Regions from separate parts of the Homo sapiens genome. Here all the other regions are linked to region 7. The links are contacts of gene promoters, found by promoter capture Hi-C in blood cells and fetal thymus (Javierre and others, 2016). All regions are on one chromosome and are shown on one strand. The core of a region is centred on a gene start or on the middle of the fragment in contact, and the rest is flanking DNA. Distances in the headings are between cores, read along the strand shown. Region 1 overlaps LOC105378250 (a long non-coding RNA gene). Region 2 overlaps LOC105378250 (a long non-coding RNA gene). Region 3 overlaps LOC105378250 (a long non-coding RNA gene). Region 4 has its middle 8.6 kb from the start of HOXC13. Region 5 has its middle 27 kb from the start of HOXC13. Region 6 has its middle 22 kb from the start of ATP5MC2. Region 7 holds the start of SMUG1 (single-strand-selective monofunctional uracil-DNA glycosylase 1).

What was found. The method cuts DNA at HindIII sites, captures the fragments that hold promoters and counts their contacts. A CHiCAGO score of 5 or more calls a contact.
Region 1: a contact is called between a fragment that was not itself captured here and the fragment with the promoter of SMUG1 in region 7, in 12 of 17 cell types (total CD8 T cells, endothelial precursors, M1 macrophages and 9 more). The highest score is 11.8, in total CD8 T cells.
Region 2: a contact is called between a fragment that was not itself captured here and the fragment with the promoter of SMUG1 in region 7, in 1 of 17 cell types (erythroblasts). The highest score is 5.1, in erythroblasts.
Region 3: a fragment that was not itself captured here is called in contact with the fragment with the promoter of SMUG1 in region 7 in 3 of 17 cell types (endothelial precursors, M2 macrophages and M1 macrophages); the score reaches 12.1 in endothelial precursors.
Region 4: a contact is called between a fragment that was not itself captured here and the fragment with the promoter of SMUG1 in region 7, in 9 of 17 cell types (naive B cells, total B cells, naive CD4 T cells and 6 more). The highest score is 13.7, in naive B cells.
Region 5: a fragment that was not itself captured here is called in contact with the fragment with the promoter of SMUG1 in region 7 in 2 of 17 cell types (naive B cells and total B cells); the score reaches 6.0 in naive B cells.
Region 6: a fragment that was not itself captured here is called in contact with the fragment with the promoter of SMUG1 in region 7 in 6 of 17 cell types (naive B cells, naive CD4 T cells, total B cells and 3 more); the score reaches 7.8 in naive B cells.

What each region holds. Positions count from the first base shown.
Region 1 is chr12:53,755,135-53,758,403 of GRCh38, forward strand. All of the region lies in intron 1 of LOC105378250 (a long non-coding RNA gene), which reads left to right. It also overlaps a transcript of CISTR not described here. Among named protein-coding and RNA genes, the nearest start is that of CISTR, 4.8 kb to the left of the region's middle. RefSeq lists an enhancer at 2,260-2,309. The HindIII fragment of the contact is 201 bases long and covers 1,765-1,965 here.
Region 2 is chr12:53,813,660-53,816,709 of GRCh38, forward strand. All of the region lies in intron 1 of LOC105378250 (a long non-coding RNA gene), which reads left to right. It also overlaps the pseudogene RN7SKP289. Among named protein-coding and RNA genes, the nearest start is that of CISTR, 63 kb to the left of the region's middle. The HindIII fragment of the contact is 753 bases long and covers 1,343-2,095 here.
Region 3 is chr12:53,772,448-53,775,817 of GRCh38, forward strand. The region is part of intron 1 of LOC105378250 (a long non-coding RNA gene); the gene reads left to right. Among named protein-coding and RNA genes, the nearest start is that of CISTR, 22 kb to the left of the region's middle. The HindIII fragment of the contact is 3,173 bases long and covers 1-2,907 here.
Region 4 is chr12:53,928,779-53,931,775 of GRCh38, forward strand. No RefSeq gene overlaps it. Among named protein-coding and RNA genes, the nearest start is that of HOXC13, 8.6 kb to the right of the region's middle. RefSeq lists an enhancer at 1-62. The HindIII fragment of the contact is 2,446 bases long and covers 253-2,698 here.
Region 5 is chr12:53,910,465-53,913,680 of GRCh38, forward strand. No RefSeq gene overlaps it. Among named protein-coding and RNA genes, the nearest start is that of HOXC13, 27 kb to the right of the region's middle. The HindIII fragment of the contact is 5,776 bases long and covers 1-3,216 here.
Region 6 is chr12:53,696,989-53,700,092 of GRCh38, forward strand. No RefSeq gene overlaps it. Among named protein-coding and RNA genes, the nearest start is that of ATP5MC2, 22 kb to the left of the region's middle. The HindIII fragment of the contact is 7,437 bases long and covers 1-3,104 here.
Region 7 is chr12:54,187,296-54,190,268 of GRCh38, forward strand. It overlaps SMUG1 (single-strand-selective monofunctional uracil-DNA glycosylase 1), which reads right to left and starts at 1,690. Exons shown (of 4, transcript NM_001243787.2): 1 at 1,656-1,690; 2 at 524-607. LOC105369777 (a long non-coding RNA gene) reads left to right here and starts at 1,802. Exons shown (of 3, transcript XR_944984.2): 1 at 1,802-1,907. The HindIII fragment of the contact is 2,636 bases long and covers 1-2,001 here.

The DNA of each region.
Region 1 (3,269 bases), core at 615-3,114, 430 kb before region 7:
AGATCTGGAGAGGGAAACAATCATCTTCCTTCTGGAGTGAAGGGTGGGACGGGAGTTATTTTCCTAATATTTAGAGAGGCTGTTTTGTCCCACGATGTGAGACACATCACCTGGAGGCCAATCCCCTAGAAAAAGAATAGCAGTTGAGAGACGGCTTTCCTTTTCCTGTTTGGGGTGTGTGTGTGTGTGTGTGTGTGTGTGTGTGTGTGGTAGGAAATGTGTTGTTGGAGATTCTATATCATTTCATTTTCCCTAGCATTTACCAACCCTAACTCAAAGGAAATCCTTTCTAAAGTCTATTCTACATTTCTTTTGCTGACAGTAAGCCCACCTCTTTAGTGGAGGTATTATCTAAAGTCCAGGATCTGGCTCAATGTCTTTTGTAAAAGATGTGTGTATGTCGGGGAGGGGAAAGTAAAAGATGGAACTTGAAGAAATGGAATGACCCAGCTCCTGGCTTTAATTACAGTAAGCCCTGAACATTCTGAACTTTATTAACCTCTTAAGTGTCCACAGGGGTGGGATGGACCTGGTGGGTTTTGCTCCCTGGTCCTCTCTGCAGGGCGTCTCTGGAGGGTCCCCTCTCTACGCTCTTTGCCCATCCCAGCCTTTGGCTGCACACCATTTCTCCTGGCCTCAGGTGGCGCTATAAATCACCTCTCCCAGAAAGGAGGCTACCACCTACCTATCCAGTCCATGTCTCACCAGCTGTCTTCATCTTGCCCAAGATCCTCTGGTTCTTTCTTCTCTGCAAATCCCATATGCTTTCCCCAGCACCAGTTTTTTGGATAACCTGATTAGCTGTTTTGGAGAGAGGGGCTCTTTTTGCAGGGACCCCTTTCTCCTCCTAAGTGTCTTACTAATTACAAACAGAGAAAGCCTGGTCTGTGAAGTTAGCCTGCCCCCAGCTCCCTGGCTTGGTGGAGGGAACCAGGAGCTAGGGGATTTAAAGCGCAATTTCCTGTGGCCTTTTCATTTCCTGCTGGGGGTTGTGGAGAGCAATAAGCAAGGTGGGTGGCAAGGGCCAGAAGGACCGGCCAGGTGGGGGATGGGCTGGGGGAGCCTTCCCTCCATGTACTCTTCTACCATCCCCTTTTCTGGCTCTCGAGGTAAGTTCTTTGGGGATGAAGCACCTGATAAATGAGGACCTGGAACTCCTTACAATCTCCCTCTTACCTCCCCAAAGTAAGAGAACGGAGTAGAGAGGAGTGGGAAAAGATCTGATTATTGTAATAATAGATGATACCACAGGAAGGAACCTTGGAAATCAGTTGGATCCCTTGAGGTTTTATTTTATTTTAAATAGAGATGGGGGTCTTGCTATGTTGCTCAGGCTAGGCCTTGAAATCCTGGGCTCAGGCGATCCTCCTGCCTCAGCCTTCCAAAGTGCTGGGATCACAGACGTGAGCCACTGCACTTGGCCTCTTTCAGGTTTCAGATGAGGAAATGGAGGCCTTGGAGAGGGCAGGTAACCTGCTCAAGGTTATGTATGTAAGTGGTGAGCTGGTGTGGCTGGGATTTAGCTAACTCTCATGATTCACTGTTTAGTGCTCTTTCCTCAGTCAGAGTCAGAGTGGGCTGTGGGTCAGTGATGTGTGTGTGTGTGTGTGTGTGTGTACTGGGGAGGGGGGATGAGATGGGAGGAAGTGGGGTAGGGAGCAGGGGATCTGGGGAGGTACCTGGATAGCAGGGGACTCCGGGTCCTGAAATGTTCACTCTTTGGTAGGTCCTGTGGAAGAGCGCAGGCAAGTCCTGACTTAGGGAAGCTTTTGTGAGCTGGCTCAGGAAACAGATGTGTGGATAAAAAGGAGGGGAGAGGGAGGAACTGTGGCCCTTGGAAACTATTAGCCCAACATCTCTTCTTCCCCTCTCCACAGTCAGAGGTGGATGAGGTGGGGGAGGGGCATGGCAGAGGACAAAGGAGCCAATTATTGAGTGAGTGGATTAATTGATTAATTGTCCAGAAGCTTCCAGTGCTCCCCAACAATGACATCCCCTCCCCCGACCCCAGTCAGGCATGGCCTCGGTTGGCCTGGATTATTAATTAGGGCTTGAAGTCATTTAACGATGATTTCATTATCGACGTGCTGTCTGTCTCGGGCTCAGCCCGGTTGCCAGGGCGACTCTGATCGATTGCCTTCCGGTCTTCTTGGCTTGGCCGGCTGCTTCCTTTCTGGAGCCTGGCTGTTGGCGAGCACTCCCTAGCGGCCCTCTCTGGTACTGCAGAGCTTCCCGGTTGCAGGCTTGAGAGACTCAGGCGAGGAACAGAGAGCTACAGCTGCCTTGGGGGTCTTTTCAGCTACTGACTGACCTAGCTGTTGCCTGGGAACCGGCTTTTCTCCTTTTCTCCTAGGTTGTGAAGTCCTTCTGATTCTGTCCCCTGGCCTTCTACCCATACCCCTTTGGGATGGGTGTAGGAATAGGTAGGGACCTCAGTTGTTTCCTCGCAGCCTTTCAATTTACCTCTGGGAGGCCCAGATAAGCTGTGATAAAGTTATTCCTGCTGCTAAGGAGACTCCTTAGGCTCTGTCTATCCTGGGACATCTGGCCTCTTGGACCTTGCATGAGGCTGGCAGGGAAGGAGTGGATGTGGGGATAATTTCCCCTTAGATTGCCTGAGTTAATGTTCTTAGGGTCTTCCCCGGCCGTGAGAGGAGCTGGGGGAGCTGGTCTTTGCAGAGCTCAGCTACTTCCTCAGCCTCAAGAAAGCCTGGGGAAAAAAGGCAGGGTCCAGGTTGTCATGCTAAGTCTTAGGTCTTCAGAAACTTGGCTGGTTACTCTATCTGTGGTCCCTGAAAACCTAGATTCATGCACATTCAGTGGTCTCAGGATCTCTACTCTATGCCTCAGTTTCTCCTTTCATGGGTTTCATGTATATATTTGTGGGGTCTGTTAGTAGAGAGTTGCTTGAAGGCATCGGTCATGGCTTCTCAGTAGGTGTCTAAATTGTTGACCCCAAAGTAATTGGGCGTCACTGGTGTCTTATCTCCCTTATCCTTTGCATGCTGCTAATTTTATTCTCAAATGCAGATCTCTCCTCAGTCCTTACCTCTCTTTACTCCTCTCCCCTTGACCCCTGACCAAAGACTGTCCCCAGCACCCTCCCCAGAACATGCCTCCCTTGCCTGCCTTCCTCTATTTCTCCTCCTCCTCTGCCCCACTTCCCCTTCTACTGGTTGTGCCAGGCTGCGTTAGCTCTGAAAAATTAAGAGCTGGGCTTCAGTCCTCTCTGGACTGCAGCATTTTTGGGGACAGGGAGGCAGGTTGGG
Region 2 (3,050 bases), core at 469-2,968, 370 kb before region 7:
GCGTTGATATAGGGAGGGCTTGTTTGTAAAATAACACTGCAGCCCTCACCTCCTGGATATTGGATCTGGCTTCTCCTAAGCAAGAAGATTCAAAACTCTGAGGAAGCAGGAGAGTCTTTTTGCCAATCCCATTGCCTCAGGACAGACTCACCTATAATCTAGCTTGCAAAAGAGAACAGATTCTGTGCTTGTATTAAAACCAATCAGTCTAAGAGATCCTGGAGGTTAATAGGCCCACATTCCTATCAGGAAGATTTCCACTGTGTCTGCCCTGATTGCCTCCTTCTTCAATAAATTAGTCAAATTGAAAACAGATTTAAGGATAGAATTGATTCCACTGCTACTAACGTTATGAGGATAGACCCTTCTGTGTCCTGAAAGCCTGCAGTGGCTGGAAATAATACCTCCTTTCTCCCAGCCCCTGTGTTTGCTATCGGGAAGGACTGCTGGCTGCCTTGGCCCCTGGTGGATGGTGGCAGGTCCAGGTTTCTCCGTGCATAGTCACTGTGAGAATCTGGTAGGAAATGGGCTGTTTCAAAATGGTCAATTATTTCTTTTTCCATTCTGTGACATCTTTGCTGGGGATTTGTAACCTTAGGCTTGCTTCTCCTCCACAGCTCTAAACAAGCATGTGTTAAGGAAAAGCAATCTGATGTCTGCCTAAATATAACAGGTGAATATTGTACCAAAGCTTCATATAATACGTTTCAGAACCAAGTAGATTTTAGCCATTCTTTTTCAGTGCCAGTGTTCACAGAGTTTAGGAATTAACAATTTGGGGTTGAAGTAGGAACATATAGAGAGATTTATCCTGCATTATGGTTGTGACGATTTCTTATCCCATTTTAGGGGGTTCGATGTTTGGGAGGAAGCTGAAGGTAGAGGACTTTTCAGCACTACTGTTTGGGGATATGCTGATGGAGGTCAGTCCCACTCTTTCTAGTGACCCTGTAACTGTCCCTCCAGGAGAGGTGTCCTTTCTTAAGTCTCCTAGAGTCACTTTATTTTTATTAAATTAAATTAATTAATTAATTTTTGAGATGGAGTCTTGCTCTGTCACCCAGGCTGGAGTGCAGTGGCATGATCTTGGCTCACTGCAACCTCCACCTCCAGGGTTCAAGTGATCCTCCTGCCTCAGCCTCACGAGTAGGTGGGATTACAGGTGTGTACCACCACGGCTGCCTAAGTTTTTATATTTTTAATAGAGTCGGGGTTTCACCATGTTGGCCAGGCTGGTCTCTAACTCTCAACCTCAGGTGATCCACCCACTTTGGCCTCCCAAAGTGCTGGGATTACAGGCATGAGCCACTGCACCTGGCCTCCTAGAGCCACTTTAGATCAAAGCTTTCAGTCCATCCTGTCACAGATAGGTTTAGTGAACCTAAAGCAGGAGTCTAGTATTTGGCCTCTCTGCTTGGGCATGGATTACAGGGGAGATCAGCCTGCAGTATTTGCCCATGTTAAGTTGTTTTTGTAGGGTGAACCCTCCAAAGATATTGAGTAATGGGTACATATTTTGTGTTCTGTTTTGTTAGAGACAGGATCTTGCTCTGTTGCCCAGGCTGGGGTTCAGTGGCACGATCTCTGCTCACTGTAGCCTCTGCTTCCTGGGCTCAAGTGACCCTCCCACTTCAGCCTCCTGAATAGCTGGGACTACAGGCATGCACCACCATGCCCAGCTAATTTTTGTATTTTTTGTAGAGAGTGTTTCGCCATGTTGGCCAGGCTTGCTAATTTTTTTGTATTTTTAGTAGAGATGGGGTTTTGTCATGTTGCCCAAGCTGGTCTCGAACTCTTGGCCTCAAGCAATCCTTCTGCTCGGCCTTCTGAAGTGCTGGGATTATAGGCATGAGCCACCTAGCCCAGCCTTAGGATGTTTCTTGTCTTCAAAATTCCTCACATGGCCCAGCCTGGTAGCCTTGAGAAGAGTACAGCAAGGGTACTGGAGAGGGCTGAGTTCAGAGGGGGCTGAGGGGCTTGATAACCTATCTTAGAATTCCTGGGTTCCCAAATGAAGGAGAATATTATTAGTTGCTAGTCTCATCTTCCAAATAAGAGAAAAAGAGATAAGTTAAAGCTGGAGGTACTGAAATTAAGCTTAACAAAGGACTTCTACTTCTATTTATTTATTTATTTATTTATTTGAGACAAGGTCTTGCTCTGTCACCCAGGCTGGGGTGCAGTGGTATGATCATGGCTCACTGAAGCCTCTACCTCCCAGGCTCAAGCAATTCTCCTACCTTAGCCTCCCAAGTAGCTGGGACTACAGGTGCATGCCACCACACTCGGCTAAATTTTTAATTTTTTTATAGAGACAGGGTCTCACTATATTGCCCAGGCTGGTCTCAAACTGCCGGGCTCAAGCAGTCCTCCTGCCTTGGCCTCCCAAAGTGCTTGGATTACAGATATGAGCCACTGTGCATGACTAGCAAAGGACTTCTTGATAGTTGGCACACAACCGACTCATTTAGTTTGGAGTCCATTCTGTCTTCCTCCTGGGCCTTGTTTTCTGCTGCTCCATGTTGGGGCGAGGGCTAAGTGTGGTTCTGACATCTCTCACTTCATCCATTTCCAGGCTGACCTGGCTGACTAGATGGGAGTCCCTACCTCCCTCTCCTTTTCATGTATGTCCTTCTTGAAGCTACATAGTTTTTTTTAAAAAACAACAACAACAGAGAAGCACTTTTCTTTGGTTAGACACAAGGATCTGTCCTTCTTGCTAAACTGTCAAACGAGCTCCCTGTGTTAGTGAGGTCTGCACATAGGATGAGGCCAGACCAAGAAGTTGGATGACAAAGCAGATTCCAGGGGCTAGAACTCCTAGGGGATAGTGAGCCCTCAAATTACTTTCCTAGGGAAAGAGGTCATGAGTGAGATTTAAAGCTCTCACCACTCTCTCAGATGGTTGGGCTTCTCCCATACATGGCCAAATGTTGTCTTGGAGAGTCCTGTCATGCCACACTCTAACCTTTTTCTTTTGTAGTCTGCTTACACTGGGAATGAACCAGTTATAATGGAGCAGTAGCATCTCAACATAGGGTATTATTGAT
Region 3 (3,370 bases), core at 71-2,570, 420 kb before region 7:
CACCAGTTTCTGGGAAAAAGTATCCTTCATCTCCATATCGGCTCTTGGTTACCAAGAAAAATGGAGGAGATAATCCAAAATAGTGAATGAGACGAAGATTATTATTTTTTTTAAGTGATTGAATCCTGGCTAAAGATAATCCATGAAGTGAACAATCTGGATGAAAGTAATCCATCATGTTACTCTTCCATGGGTGGGTATATGGCATCTGGAGAGGGAGGCTGGTGGGAGAGGGCCTCAGCTTGTTTAGCTCTCACTTTTTTGTCAGAACCATGAGATGTCTGTGGAGAACTCTGCAGAACCCATTTCTATGCTGTATTTTTAAACTCTGGAGGAGGCCTGTTCCATAGTTTGAGAACCAAATACTTAGTTCAAAGAACATGACAATCAGTAGCCAATATGCAAAACTGCCACTTCATCTAGGGTTTCCATGATACCCAGTGTGAAAGTCAAAGTCCTCACAGTGACTCTATGGCCCGCCATGAATGATCCGGCCTCCTGATTTCTCTCTGACCTCATCCCCGACTACTTCTTCCTATCTCACTCTGTGCCAGCCCAAGATGGTCAGGTGCCATTCCACACCCATCAGGATGGCTATTATTAAAAAAACAGAAAATAGCAAGTGTTGGCGAGAATGTGGAGAAATTGGAACCTTTGTGTACTGCTGGTTGGCAAGTAAAATGGTGCAGCCACCGTGGAAAACAGTAAATTGGTGATTCCTAAAAAAGTAAACTTAGAATTACCATATGACCCAGAAATTCCACCTCTGGGAATATATCCAAAAGAAATGAAAGCAGGGACTCAAATTGATATATGTACACCCACGTTCATAGTAACATTATTCAGAATAGCCAAAAGGGAGAGGCAACCCAAGCATCTATTGATAGATAGACAAACAAACAGATAAACAAAATGTGGTATATACATAGAGAGAAATATTAGTCACTCTAAAAAAGGAAGAAAATTCTAATACACGCTACAACACGGATACTCTTGAAGACGTTATGCTAAATAAAATAAGCCAGACACAAGCAGACAAATATTGTATGATTCTATTTATATGAGGTACCCAGAATAGTCAAATTCATACAGACAGAAAGTAAAGTGGTGGTTTCTAAGGAATGGGAGCAGGAGGGAATGGGAATTTAATGTTTAATGGGCACAGAGTTTTAGTTGGGTAAGATGGCAAAGGTTTGGAGGTGGATGGTGACGATGATTGACCCTCATGTGAATGTATTTAATGCTGCATTTATTTATTTATGAGACGCAGTCTCACTCTGTTGCCCAGGCTGGAGTGCAGTGGCACGATCTTGCCTCACTGCAACCTCCGCCTCCTGGGTTCAAGCAATTCTTCTGCCTCAGCCTCCCAAGTAGCCGGGACTACAGGTGCCTGCCACCACGCCCAGCTAATTTTTGTATTTTTAGTAAAGATGGGGTTTTACCATGTTGGCCAGGATGGTCTCAATCTCTTGACCTTGTGATCCACTTGCCTTGGCCTCCCAAAGTGCTGGGATTACAAGCGTGAGTCACTGCGCCCTGCCTTATATACTTTTATTTTTACTTTTTTAGAGACAAGGTCTTGCTCTGTCACCAGGCTGGAGTGCAGTGGCATGATCACAGCTCACTGCAGACTTGACCTCCCAAGGCTCAGGTTATTCTCCCACTTCAGCCTCCTGAGTAGCTGGGATTACAGGCGCTTGCCACCACATCTGGCTAATTTTTCTATTTTTTGTAGAGATGAGGTTTTGCCATGTTTGCTGGTCTCAAACTCCTGGTCTCAGAAGATCTGCCCGCCTTGGCCTCCCAAAGTGCTGGGATTACAGGTGTGAGCCACCATGCCTGGCCTAATGCCACATTTAAAAACAGTTAAAATGGTAAATTTTATGTTATGTACATTTTACCACTATAAACAATGGCCAGAGTCTTTATATTTGCACTTCTCAGAGATCTGCACCATTGCTTTTTCCTGCACCTGCTCCTGGCTGCTGGTGAAGTGTCATCTCAGCAAGGCCTTCTTGGACCACTTGTTTTAAAATCTCAACTCCCATCCTGATCACATCCTAACCTTTACTTGCTTTACTTTACAGCACAAACCACAATCTAACACAATATATATTCTGTTTTTTTTTTTTTTTTTGAGATGGAGTCTTGCTCTGTCACCCAGGCTGGAGTGCAGTGGCATGATCTCGGCTCACCGCAAGCTCTGCCTCCTGGGTTCACGCCATTCTCCTACCTCAGCCTCCCGAGTAGCTGGGATTACAGGTGCCCGCCACCACACCTGGCTAATTTTTTTGTATTTTTAGTAGAGACAGGGTTTCACCGTGTTAGCCAGGATGGTCTCGATCTCCTGACCTCGTGATCCACCCGCCTCAGCCTCCCAAAGTGCTGGGATTACAGGCGTGAGCCACTGCGCCCGGCCTAACACAATATGTATTCTTACTACTTGTTGTTGTTTGCTTCTTCTTGCTGGAATGTAAGTGACTTGAGTGGAGGGATTTTTTTGTGTGTGTGTTTTAATTGCTGTATCCCCAGTGCTGAATAGTTGAGGACCGGTAAATATTTGTTGAATGAATGAATAAGGGACCATGACTAGACATAGACTTCTAGAGAAGGCACACACAGAAAGAGAATATGAGAAGATTCTGTTTTTTGTTTGGCCTTAACTAATTTCTTCTAGACCTTGGATATATAACTCAGACCCTGTGTTCATGATGGCTTTTATACAGTTTACCTTTTCTTACGTGTTTTGAACTGTTTGCATTTAGAGCTGTTGGTGCACTGCGTACGCCATGGTTATTATTATTTAAAGCGGTCACCTTGAACACAAAGCCTCTACTCTTGTATTTCTGATTGCCTCCAACCATAATTGCAGAGGTACTTGAGTCAGGGCTTTGGAAACTCTGGGAAAGCTTAGATATCCAGAAACCTTTACTTTTTTTTCTTTTTCTTTTTTTTTTTGAGACATTGGTTTGACTGGCTCCAGAGTTTTCATTCTCTGGAAATTTTAAGGAAGAGCAAACTTATATAATTTGGGATCAGGAAAGGAGTTGTATTTACAAGCAAAGAGATTGATATAATCTCTAGGAGATGTTGCATTTTAAAGTCCACTTCTTGGAAGCTTTGAGACCTGAAATAATTATGTAGCAGCTCCATTGCTTTCCTCTCGTGAACGTTTATCAAGTTTCTAGGAGAGCACTTTGTGTCCACACTCTATTTGAAGTTGTTCAGCAGGAGCCATGAGGCCAAACTTCCGGATTGGCAAGATTGTTAGCACCCCAGCACGGGAACCAGTGGAACTTACTTCCTTGGAAAAATGTTTTGAAAAGGAAAGGTCCTGAGTGAGGGTAGTGCCCTTCTTAGAGACAGAGGA
Region 4 (2,997 bases), core at 226-2,725, 260 kb before region 7:
AGGTTGAAGAAATGTTGGAGAGGGAGGTGCGGCGGGTGGGGATGTTCCTTACTGTCCTAGGTATTTGTAACCAAGGTAGATTTTGAAGTTATTACAAACATGTTCCCTGTTCAAATAGCATGGACCCCATTCTCCAGGCTCCACTGTGTGAGGCGGGTTTACAGCCTCAAGGTTCTCCCTGAGGTTGGGGATAGGGAATAACGCTAATCCTGCATTATAAAAAATAAAATAAAATAAAATAAAAATCCTGAAAGCTTAATTATCGAATAATTCAGATAAGTCCTCCTCCCGTCACTCACCTTTCGATTATTTGAATAATTCAGGAAAATGCAAATTCTGATTGTTTGTGGAGACTCATCATCGCTGGACAGTAAAAAGAGAGAGAAACAAGGAAAATCTAATAGAGAACAGCGCTCCAAGATGGTGAAATGGGTCTTCTGTGCATTTTTCCTTGTGTAGAAAGATAGAGTTGCCTTCCTGGGCATTATTTCCTGGAAGATATTGTATCTGTTGTGATAAAATGTAGAGTTAGATCAAGTCACCAAAATGCATATATGTGTGTGTGTATATATGTGTGTATATACATGAGAGAGAGAGAAGAGGGAACAAACATGGGTTTCTACTTGTGTCTATGAAAAATTTTATTTCTTGGCAGAAAGAATATTTGGGCTCCATTTTGTTTGTTTGTTCTTTGTTTTTTTCCAAGAAGATCATAGCTGGGTAGGACCAGTCTCCTCCACATAGTTTTTAAGCTGAATATGCACTTGCAAAGTGAAGTTGGGGCATCACCCACATAGCCTTCAGGTGGAAACTCGACTTGAAACTGCAAATTCAGATTTGTCTTCCAGGTGTACTGGCAGAGCATCTGAGATCCCCTGTTGGCTTCACAGCCTGAGGAGTGAGCCCAGAGAAGCCAGGAGACTGCAGTGGGTGTCTCCGGACCTTGCAAAGAACTCACTTTCCTAAAGGCTGAACTCAGAGCTAGACATCCTGAAGGATCAAGTCATCAAGGATCAAGGAGCAGTCATGTTTGACGGGGAGAGGGTTGGTTGGGCTTTCTTCTTCCCAGGATTAACCACATTTGGGAAACTTTTTTCAAGGGTGAGGGTGAGGCTAAACTTTGAAAGGTAGTGAATCCGCTTTTCTTATTGGTAATATTTGGAAGGAAAAATTCACCACTGTTTATGACCTTGCCCCTACTACTTAAAGTACAGAGCATTTTAAAGATAAGACTTAAAATAGGAAATTTGTAGACCCCAGTGCACCAAGTTTAGAAGTAGATTTGAAACATGACCAACTGTGAGTGCATGTTGTCATTGTAGGCTTCTGTATAAGACATAACCATGCCATTTCATATGTATTATATTCAGCAAATGACAACAAATACACAGCCACATCAAAATTAATAATAAGATTCCTGAGAGCTGAATAGTTTGCTTTCTTCCTTTGCCGTTATTCCAGCTAAGATTAACCAGCTTTTCAGAAGTCTATTATCATGGTTTCTTTCCCTTTGGTTCCCAGCCCTTGCCCACCACCTCCTACTTCCCCACATTTCTTTTTGAGCCCGAGATTCACTCAACCTTCTTTGACAAATCTTTATAGGTGTATGATTATCTTTGTCACACTTTCCTACCCCAAAACTGGGCATAAACCACAGAAAATAGTCTTTTTATTCCTTTGTTTCCCCATTTGGGAGGACCCCTTTCCACAGGGACCTGTGAGGGGAGAAGAAAGGGAAGGCTGATTCTTGGTTCACACAAGCATGCTCATGAATGCCCAGGCCCTAGGGTGAGTCCGCTGTCTACCCACACACTCAGAGCTCTCCAGGAACTTACTTGAGTCTCTCCTACCCCCACAAATAAATGTACCCACCTGTGTGCTCAGCAATAGGTGCACATAACGTGCACACAGGGCATCAGTCAGGATTGCGTGTGTGACTATGCCTGCCCCACTGGACCTGCTCTGGCGCCAGGTAGTGTCGCGGGCGCTTCCTAGTGCGGGCACTCATCCTGCCGCTCTCCGGTCGGCCATTTATTGTCTTGTGGGGAAGGGCTTTCGCCAAGAAACTTGGTCTGGGTTAGTGAAATAAAATACTAAACAATTACTATATGTAAAATTTTAAAACCAGCATATTAAAATAAACTAAGGAACTCTCTGTCGTGGGAGAAATCCACAGGAAAAGGAAGAGAAGGAGTTAGATGCTGGCGCCGAGTTCCTGGCGGAGCCAGGCGGCGGTGACTCCTCAGGCTGAGCGGAATCGCCATCCAGGCGCCGGAAACGACCCGAATCCCAAAATCCGTGGAAGAAAATTGCGCTGAAAGAACAGAGCCAACGCCCCCGTCCTGCCAAGTTTGGCGAGACGGCAAGTTGGCTTCAGGAGCACAATGCCGCTAAATGATGCCTAAGAGAAAAATTCTCCCAGAGAATTGTCTGGGAGCAACAGCAAAGACATGGTGTTTTTATTCTCTTAGACATGGTGTTTTTATTATCTATTAAAAATACAACTCTAAAAAGCATCTCTGCACTTACATATACCTACATACCATTTCCGTTTAATGGCTGACTGCATTAGAAAACAACATGAATGGAAATGCATTAACAAAGCATCTGTACTAATACACATCTTTACCCACAGAACTATACGTTGGTCAAGCCTCCCCCCATCTCAGCATGAGCATAAACACAATTAAAGCCTTTAAGCTTTTTCATTAAACATAACTATGTTGTCATATTCAAAGAATATATTATTTTTTAAAAATTGTAAGATTGTTATATGGATAATAAGGTAATCCTAATTATATGGATATGGGTATCTGAGGACACATTTCTTATGTTAATATTTATCTGAAGTTCCTATAACACCAAACAAAACATGTATTACATACTTTCTTGTCTAGAAATAAGTCTATAATAGATAAGAGGAATAAATCTGTATTTCTTCTTTGGAGGGAAATTCATTAATAAGCCAAGCACTGAAAAGAGAGCTACAAGTGCTTT
Region 5 (3,216 bases), core at 524-3,023, 280 kb before region 7:
ATTCCTTTTTTTTTTTATTTTTTAATTTTTTTAATTTTTTTTATCTTTTTATTTATTTTTTTTTTTTGAGATGGAGTTTCACTCTTGTTGCCCAGGCTGGAGTGCAACGGTGTGATCTCGGCTCACTGCAACCTCTGCCTCCCGGGTTCTAGCGATTCTCCTGCCTCAGCTTCCTGAGTAGCTGGGATTACAGGCATGTGCCACCACACCCAGCTAATTTTGTATTTTTAGTAGAGATGGGGTTTCTCCATGTTGGTCAGGCTGGTCTTGAACTCCTGACCTCAGGTCATCCGCCTGCCTTGGCATTATTCCCATTTTTAACATGTGTTTTTCTGATTTTCTGAGAGTTGAACATCTTTTCATATTTTAGTAGCCTTTTAGATTTCCTCTCCTCTGTGACTTTCCTGTTCATATCCTTTGCTCTTTTTTTTTTTTTGAAACAGGATCTCACTCTGTTGCTGGAGTGTAGTGGTGTGATCTCAGCTCACTGCAGCCTCAAACTCCCAGGCTCAAGTGATCCTTCTGCCCCAGCCTCCCCAGTAGCTGGGACCACAGCCACGTGCCACCATGCCCAGCTAATTTTTGCACTTTTTGCAGAGAAGGGGTTTCACCATGCTGCCTAGGCTTATCTTGAACTCCTGGGCTCAAGCAGTCCTCCCACCTTGGCCTCCCAAAGTGCTGGGATTACAGGCATGAGCCACCGCACCTGGCCTGCTCATTATTTTTTTAAATTGAATTGTCTTTTTCTTATTGATTTTTAGAGTCCTTCACATATCTTGAATGTTAATACTTTGTCTAATATCTGCATTGTAAATACCTTCTGCCAGTCTGCAACTTATATAGCAGTGATAGTTAATGGTGTTTTTAAAAGAATGAAGAGTATTTAATCTAATTTTATCAAATTTTTTCAAACTTTTCCTTATGATTTTGTTTTCTGTGTCGTGTTTAGGCAAATATTTCCTATTCCAAGGTCATACAGGTTTCTCATTTATTCCCTCATTTGCTTATTTATTTGACAAATATACTGAATGCGTACTTTGTGCCAGGTACTGTTCTAGGCTTGGCAGAAACAACTGTGAGTAAGACAAAAGACCCAACCTTAATGACTTAGATTCTAGTGTGGGAGAGAGACAATAAACAATAGATAAATAGAAAATAAAACATGAAGAGAAAGTAAGATACAGAGATAAAGAGAAACCAATGGGCTGCTCTGTTAGAGTGGTCAGGAAAGGCCTCCCTGAGAAGGTAACATTCAGCAGAAAACAGAATATGATGAGGGAGCAAGAAATGGGAATATCTAAAGAGAAGAACATTCCAGGCAGGGGAAACAGCAAGTCCAAAGGCCCTAAGATGTTGGCGTGATTGATGGGTTATAGAACAGTCGAGAAAATGGCTAGTGTAGCTAACTGGCATACATAAGGGGAAGAGCGGTAAGTGCTTACTTAGAGAAGTAACCAGGGATTTTATTCTGTGATGAGAAGCCACTGGAGGATGTTAAGCAGGGAATTGATTTACTTTTCACATGTTCATTATGACCACTATCATAACATCCAGGAGGCAAAAACGGAAGCATGTAGATGGGTTAAGAGTTTATTGCTATAGTCTAAATGAAAGGCGATAGTGACTTAGACCAGGGCAGTAGCAGAGAAAATTGTGAGAAGTGGTCAGATTCACACTATACAACATGACCCCAAAAGCACAGGCAACAAAAACAAAAACAGACAAATGGGATTGCATCAAACTTAAAAGTTTCTGTACAATAAAGGAACCAATTAACACAGTGAAGAGGCAACTCATAGATTGGGAGAAAATATTTGCCAATCATATATCAGATGGGGGCTTATATCCAAAATATATAAGGAACTCAATAATAAGAAAACAAACTACTCAAACTACTCAATAATAAGAAAATTAAAAACTCTATTAAAAAAAAGCAAAGGACATGAATAGACATTTCTCAAAAGAAGACATATAAATGGCCAATAGATAGATGAAAAAATGCACAATATATTTTGAAGTTAGACCTAGTAAGATTTTCCAATGGATTTGATGAGGATGTTAGCACTATTTTCTTAAATGGGAACGTTGCAGGAGGAGAAGTTTTGGTGGTAAAATGCATACTTTGTTTTTGATCATGCTAATTTTGAGATGCCTATTAGAGGTCTAATTTGAAACTTTTTTTTTTTTTTTTTGGTAGAGAAGGGGTTTTGCTTTGTTACCCAGGCTAGTCTTGAACTCCTGCCCTCAAGTGATCCCCCTGCCTTGGCCACCCAAAGTGCTGGGGTTACAGGTGTGAGCCACCTTGCCCAGCCAGCCAAGTTGAAATTCTGAACTGAATGTTGAATATATGAGTGTGGAGTTTAGGGAATAGATAGAGATGTAAATTTGAAAGTCACTAGCATAATGTTTCTTGCCTTAAATTCTCATATATTTTCCTCTAAAGGTTCTGTGCTTTTCCTTCCTTCCTTCCTTCCTTCCTTCTTTCTTTCTTTTTTTTTTTTTTCATTTGACGGAGTTTCACTCTTGTTGCCTAAGCTGGAGTGCAATAATGCAATCTCAGCTAACTGCAACCTCCACCTCCCGGGCATAAGCAATTCTCCTGCCTCAGCCTCCCTAGTAGCTGGGATTACAGGTGCCTGCTACCATGCCCAGCTAATTTTTGTATTTTTAGTAGAGATGGAATTTCACCATGTTGACCAGGGTGGTCTCGAACTGCAGACCTCAGGTGATCCACCCACCTGGGCCTCCCAAATTGCTGGGATTACAGGTGTGAGCCACCGCGCCTGGCCTGCTTTTGCTTTTTCATGTTTAGGTCTTTAATCCATTTGGAATTAATTTTTTTATATAGTGAGAGAAAAAGATTGAACTCTCCCCTCCCTGTGCCCATGAGTAGGCTTTCCCTCACTGGTTTGAAATGTCAGATATCAGATTTAAACAGCACAGATCTGTTTTCTGGGTTCTCTATTCTTTTAAGTTGGTCAATTTGACTATCAAAGATTCATTATCACTGCTATCATAATATCCAGGAGGCAAAAATGGAAGCAAGAAGACTGGTTAAGGGTTTATTGCTATAGTCTAAATGAGAAGTTATAACTTAGAACAGGGTCTGTGCAAATACTACACTGTCTTAATCATTACATGATTCAGTCAGGGCTTAGTGCAAGAACAACTCTAGATATTTCAAGCAGAAAGGAATTTACTACAGGGAATCTGATG
Region 6 (3,104 bases), core at 312-2,811, 490 kb before region 7:
GGAGGGAGTTAGAGGGGGAGAGGACCCCCCCCCCAAAAAAACCCTCCATCCTCTCTCCCCATCCATTTTCTCCGAGGGAGCCGAGTTTGACAGCGAATTCATTCCGAGCGGGGAGGGTGATTTATTCTTCAAATATACCGACAAGTGCGGGCATGATGGAGCCCATTAAAATGTTGGGAGATTGTTTTTATGATTGAAGTCTGTATTACTCCAACCATAAAGAAAGAGAGCAAGGAGTCATTAGCATTTTCATGATGGTGTATTTCTGCTTGTCTCCGCGCCATCACTCATCTTTACTGCCCGTCCCTTTGCTCTCGCGCTGCTACAACGAGGAGAGACTGCAGCCTGAGTCGGGGCTGGGGATGGGGGGAGATGGGGGCCAGAGATCCGCGCCCCCCACGCCGCTGTGCCCTTCACGCCAAATCCTCACCCTCCCTGAGACGCAGATCGGGGGTGAGAGGCTGGAAACAGACGTAGGGCCTCAGCTTCCTTCTGCGGCTCCTCCTGCCCTTGAAGTGTGGGAGCAGGGGGTCCTGCCCAAATGGTGCTTGGAGATCTGAGCACAGTGGGGTGGTGGGGGGTTACACCCCTTCCTTTCTCTGGCTCTTCACTTGCTGACCTACACTGAGAGCTCTTCAGGGTTATCCACATAGGAGTAAATTCAAGAATTCCTGGCTGAGTGCCTTGGGCTGGAGACATCAGTGTAGGAGAGGGCAAGAGGGAGGAGACCCCAAATCCTTGGGTTTGGAAAACTGGGTTGGCAGGAAGTTGGGAGCCCGGACATTTGGTTTCTGTCTCTGCGATCCCCTAAAGGGCCCTTTGACCTTGCTCCGGGATAAGTTCAAGCCTCCAGTCTCCACCCTGATTCCCCAGCTCCTGCTCCCTCCTAATTCCCTAAATCCTGGACTCTTTCTACACAGTCATTTACAACCAGACCCTCCAGTACTCCAAGGAGCTAATTTACACCCTCCATGCAAATAATGGAGATCAAAATAGTTACTGCCAAGGAATGAGCTTAGAGACAGTTGGCTATGTGTAAAACACTGCCTCCAGATGCCCGAGGATGGTTGGAGTCCCCTGTCCTCATCTCTGTTGTCTTCTTCTTGTTCTTCTTCTTGTTCTTCTTGTTCTTCTTGTTCTTGTTCTTGTTCTTGTTCTTCTTCCTTCTTCTTCTTCTTCTTCTTCTTCTTCTTCTTCTTCTTCTTCTTCTTCTTCTTCTTCTTCTTCTTCTTCTCCTTCTTCTTCTTCCTCCTCCTCCTCCTCATCTTCTTCTTCTTCTCCTTCTTCTTCTTCCTCTTCTCCTCCTCCTCCTTCTTTTTTTTTGAGATGGAGTCTCGCTCTGTCGCCCAGTCTGGAGTGCAGTGGCGCAATCTCGGCTCACTGCAACCTCCGTCTCCCAGGTTCAAGCGATTCTCCTGCCTCAGCCCCTGGAGTAGCTGGGATTACAGATGCATGCCGCCATGCCCGACTAATGTGTGTGTGTGTGTGTGTGTGTGTGTGTGTGTGTGTGTATTTTTAGTAGAGATGGGGTTTCACCATGTGTGTATTTTTAGTAGAGACGGAGTTTCACCATGTTGACCAGGCTGGTCTGGAACTCCCGACCTCAAGTGATCCACCCACCTTGACCTCCCACAGTGCTGGGATTACAGGCATGAGCCACCGCACCTGGCCTCATCTCTGTCTTCTGATAAGACACTAACATATAGAAACATTCATTCCAGGTTGGGCACAGCCTGCCTGCATATCTTATTGCCCCCTATTTGAGTGGGGGTTGGTTGGCATATAGGCTAGGTTAAAGGGTGATGGGGAAGAGGAGGCAGAAGTAAAGGTGGTGAAGTGGAAGTGGTAGCTAGGAAGACATTAAGAGTGATAATAAAAATTAGTGGACCCCCTTCCTGTTGGTCTACTGCTTTCCCATTTTATTTTATTTTATTTTATTTTATTTTATTTTATTTTATTTTATTTTATTTTATTTTATTTTATTTTATTTGAGATAGAGTCTCACTCTGTTGCCCAGGCTGGATCAGGGCTCACTGCAGCCTTGACCTCCTGGGCTTAAGCAATCCTCCTGCCTCAGTCCCTGGAGCAGCTGCATCCACAGGTGCATGCCACCACACCCGACTAATTGTGCTTTCCCATTGATGCCTCACAACAACCTGAGAGGTAGGTTTCATGTCCTCCATTTCACAGAAGAAGAAACCAAAGCTCAGGTTGGGAGATACCCAAGGACAATTAGGTGGTAAACAGAAGAATCAAGATCTGAACCTGGACTGTCTTCATCACCTGAAGCTGCCTGAGAAGGAGTTCAGGGTCTCTAAAGTAGAAGCCAGGATGACTAATAGCTCCATATAATTCATCTGGGTTCATAAGAAAGTGAGGAAGTCTGTCTGGTAAGAGCTTAAGAATTTTGAGAGAAATTTTACTAGAAATATTTATCTCGTGGTGATTGGGTCTAGGTAGTCGGGTAGTTACTATCATTGCTGGGATCTACCTCTCCCTAATCATTTAGTGAACATTTATTAAGCATCTACTATGTGTCTTCTTTTGATTGACCCCACCCTCCCCTTTCTCCACTTCCCCTACTGAGATGGGTACCTAATAGAGTTCTCAGGTCCTGGGCAGGGGTAGAGGCCCAGGAGAAAAGGAAGGTGTGGAGGTGAGAGCCCCCCATAGCCTGCACAGTGCCCAGAGGCGGCTGCAGCGGTGGCTCCAGATTTATAGCTGCCCCGGTACTGATGCAATAAAAGGAAACGATCCTTTTCTGTACTAATTTCTGTGTAATTAGATCTCTCCTGGCATGGAAAGTGGGGAGTGGGGGTGGCCAGGAGGGGAGGGTGCCAAGGACTCTTCACAGAGTCCTCCTTGGGAGGAGGGACTGCTGGACACACATGGCTTCACGTGGGGCTGGTTGGACAAATGGATCTGCACACACTGTGATGCACACAGGAAAGCAAGGAGGTGGAGGAGTCTTGATATGTCAACACACTTGTGTGCAGGATGGGGACAGACAAACCTGGGATCCTGCACAAAGATCCTGGAGCCAGAAGAACTAACTCCCGGGTAGTCTGTACACACAGAAGATATTGAAATCCTCAGAGGAGCTG
Region 7 (2,973 bases), core at 440-2,939:
CTAGGGGAAGTGGGAGAGAAAAGAAATCAGAGGCCCAACTTAGGAAGTCCTTCCCTGACTGTCTCAGTAGTCTTTAACTGATCTGTTGTCCAGGTGGCTACCCAGGACAAACTGGGCTCATACAAAAGCTGAGAAGGGTGCTGTGGAGAACGCCAGTGTTTCAGGGGACCTTGCTTTGCATCTCCCCATGCAACACCAACATTAGCAGATTGGCTGCTCCAGCTCTAGAATCTCGAGAAGTCTTGAGCCCACCTTTGACATTTAGACACCTGTGTTGGAAACAGCAAGGCTGGGGAAAAGAGTGGCAAGATACTACTTTCATTGTTCCATAACTTCAAAGCCTGATCTCATAGCAAGAGCCACAGGCTGGAAGTCAATTGATTTGAATTCTACTCCTGTTTCATCTCTAAGAAGGTTCTCTTGAGCAACTCATTTAACTCTCTTCTCTATGGAAAATCACATACTCCATCCAACCTACCACCTGTTAACTCATTTTTTTTTTCAATACTTATGAGTCTCTTACATGACAGGCACTGCAGCAGTCTCTTGATGAGGAAGAAATCCAAAAAGAGTAAAATGTAGGCCAGGCTTTCTGTAAGCTCATAATCTGCTGTGAGGGCAAATAAACAACTAACTGTAATACAGTGTGATGTGAGCTTTAATACCCGGAACAAAACACTAAGAGAACCCAAAGGAGGAACTTGTAAGTTCTACCCAAAGTCGCCCCAAGAGCCAGAGGCTTAAGAAATGTAGATATTTTATAAAATACGGTGTCATACTACATTAAGCACAAAGACAGCGGAGTTGGACCAAGCGATAAGGCTGACCACCAAGGGCCGACTTCAGACTGATGTCAGACTTCTCTGACATCAAATCCGGGAAGTGAGGAAGGAATCGAAATCACATATGCACTCCCCTGTCCTTTGGAGGCACTCCGGGAGTCCAGGGACAATAATAAATATCCTTAAACGAAATAATAATAATAATAATAATAATAATAAATAATAATAATAATAATAATAATAATAATAATAATAATAATAATGCATAGGCCGGGCGCGGTGGCTCACACCCGTAATCCGAGCACTTTGGGAGGCCGAGGCGGGCGGATCACGAGGTCAGGACTTCGAGACCAGCCTGACCAACATGGTGAAACCCAGTCTCTACTAAATACAAAAATTAGCTGGGCATGGTGGCGCGCGCCTGTAATCCCACCTACTCGGGAGGCTGAGGCAGAAGAATCGCTTGAACCCGGGAGGCGGAGGCTGCAGTGAGCTGAGATCGCGCCATTGCACTCCAGCCTGGAATTCAGAGCAAAATTCCGTCTCAGAAAAATAAATAAATAAACAATAATAATAATAAAGCATAAACTCAAAAAGACCATTTCATCTGGTTCCAAAGGGGCCGACTACTAAGGCACCATACAAAACCTCCGGGGGCGCCCGCTGGCTCCGGCCGACTGGAAAGCCTTGATCCTGCAGACCTCCCAGGCGGTTTCATAGGCTGGGCTCTCCCTGCACTGAGTCTTACCCCATACGGAGGGAGGGACCCCAAAATATAGAAATTCTAACCACCCTCTCGGCTCAGCCCCGACGACCCTGGGAGCCGTCAACTTGCCCCCACAGTCCCGGATTCCCAGCCCCCTACTTCCTCACCTGGTCCAGCTCCCCATCCCGTTTCCGGTTCCTTTCCCCCACCCCAAACCCAACCCCCGGCGCTAAGGACAGTGGGAGTCGTAGTCTACATTGTTTAGGGAAGGAGATTGGCGTACCCGCAGCCACTTCCGCCGGAAATGCTCCAATCCCGGAAGGCGCACTAAATTAGCCCTAAAGATCGCTGGGAATTGTAGTTTAATCTTTCCATCAGCGTTAAATCAGGAAGTCTTGAGAAGTGAAAAGCCACAGCCTGTAAGTACCTAGGAAATCCTGGGTTCTATCCCTAAAGGGCATCGCCCTTCCAAAAGTTCATTCACTATTTTCCCAAAGGGATTGCAAATCAGGAAGCTTCAACCATCCCCAATCCCTCACCCACCTGAAGGTATTAACAATAGCTAAAGACCATTGCTAGGCCCCCTGCCACCGTGGGTATAAGAGACTTCTCCTTTGCAGCCTGCCATTACTTATACAGAACATCCACGAAGACATTTCTGGTAGCTCCTAACAACTTTTTAGCAAGGGGCATCCCCCATTACTGTCCAAGCCCATCTCCAGAGTGTCACCATTTTGACTTCTTTCTCTGCCTTGCTATCTGCCCAACCCTATAACCTCAGTATTAGTCAAGAGTTTTCCAGAGAACAGAACTAACAGGATATCTATCTATATGACGAGATTTATTCCAAGAATTGGCTCACAGGATTGTGGAGGCCAAGAAGTCCCACAGTCTCCCGCTCTGCTGTCTATACACTGGAGAACCAGGAAAACAGGTGGTATAATTCAGGAAAGTCCAAAGCAGGGGAGGAGGCTCACTGCTAAGTCCCAGAGCCTGAAGGACGAAGAACCAGGAACTCCAATGATGTCCAAAGGCAGGTAAAATAGATGTCCCAGCTCATGAAGAAAGAGAATTTGCCTTCCTCCACTCTTTTGTTCTACTGGCCCCCAAGGGATTGGATGGTTCCCACCCATATTAATGAGGGTGATCTTCTTAGTCTACCAATTCAAATGCAAATCTCTTCCAGAAACACTCCACAGACATATCCAGAAATAATGTTTTACCAGCTATCTGGGTGTCCCTTAGACCACTCAAGTAGACACATAAAGTTAGCTATCACTCTTCCATCCAAATCTTCTCCCTCAAATACTTTGTCCAGGAAGGCTTCCCTGATCAATCCTCATCCCATGGCTGCACCTAACAGTCCATTCCCCCACCATTCCCCCATCCCAATATCTATGTCCAAATCTGTCCTATTCCTAGTTTTGTTCTTGTGCTCTATCTGGGTCTGGTTCTGTGTCGTGACTCTAAAACTTTCATTAGACT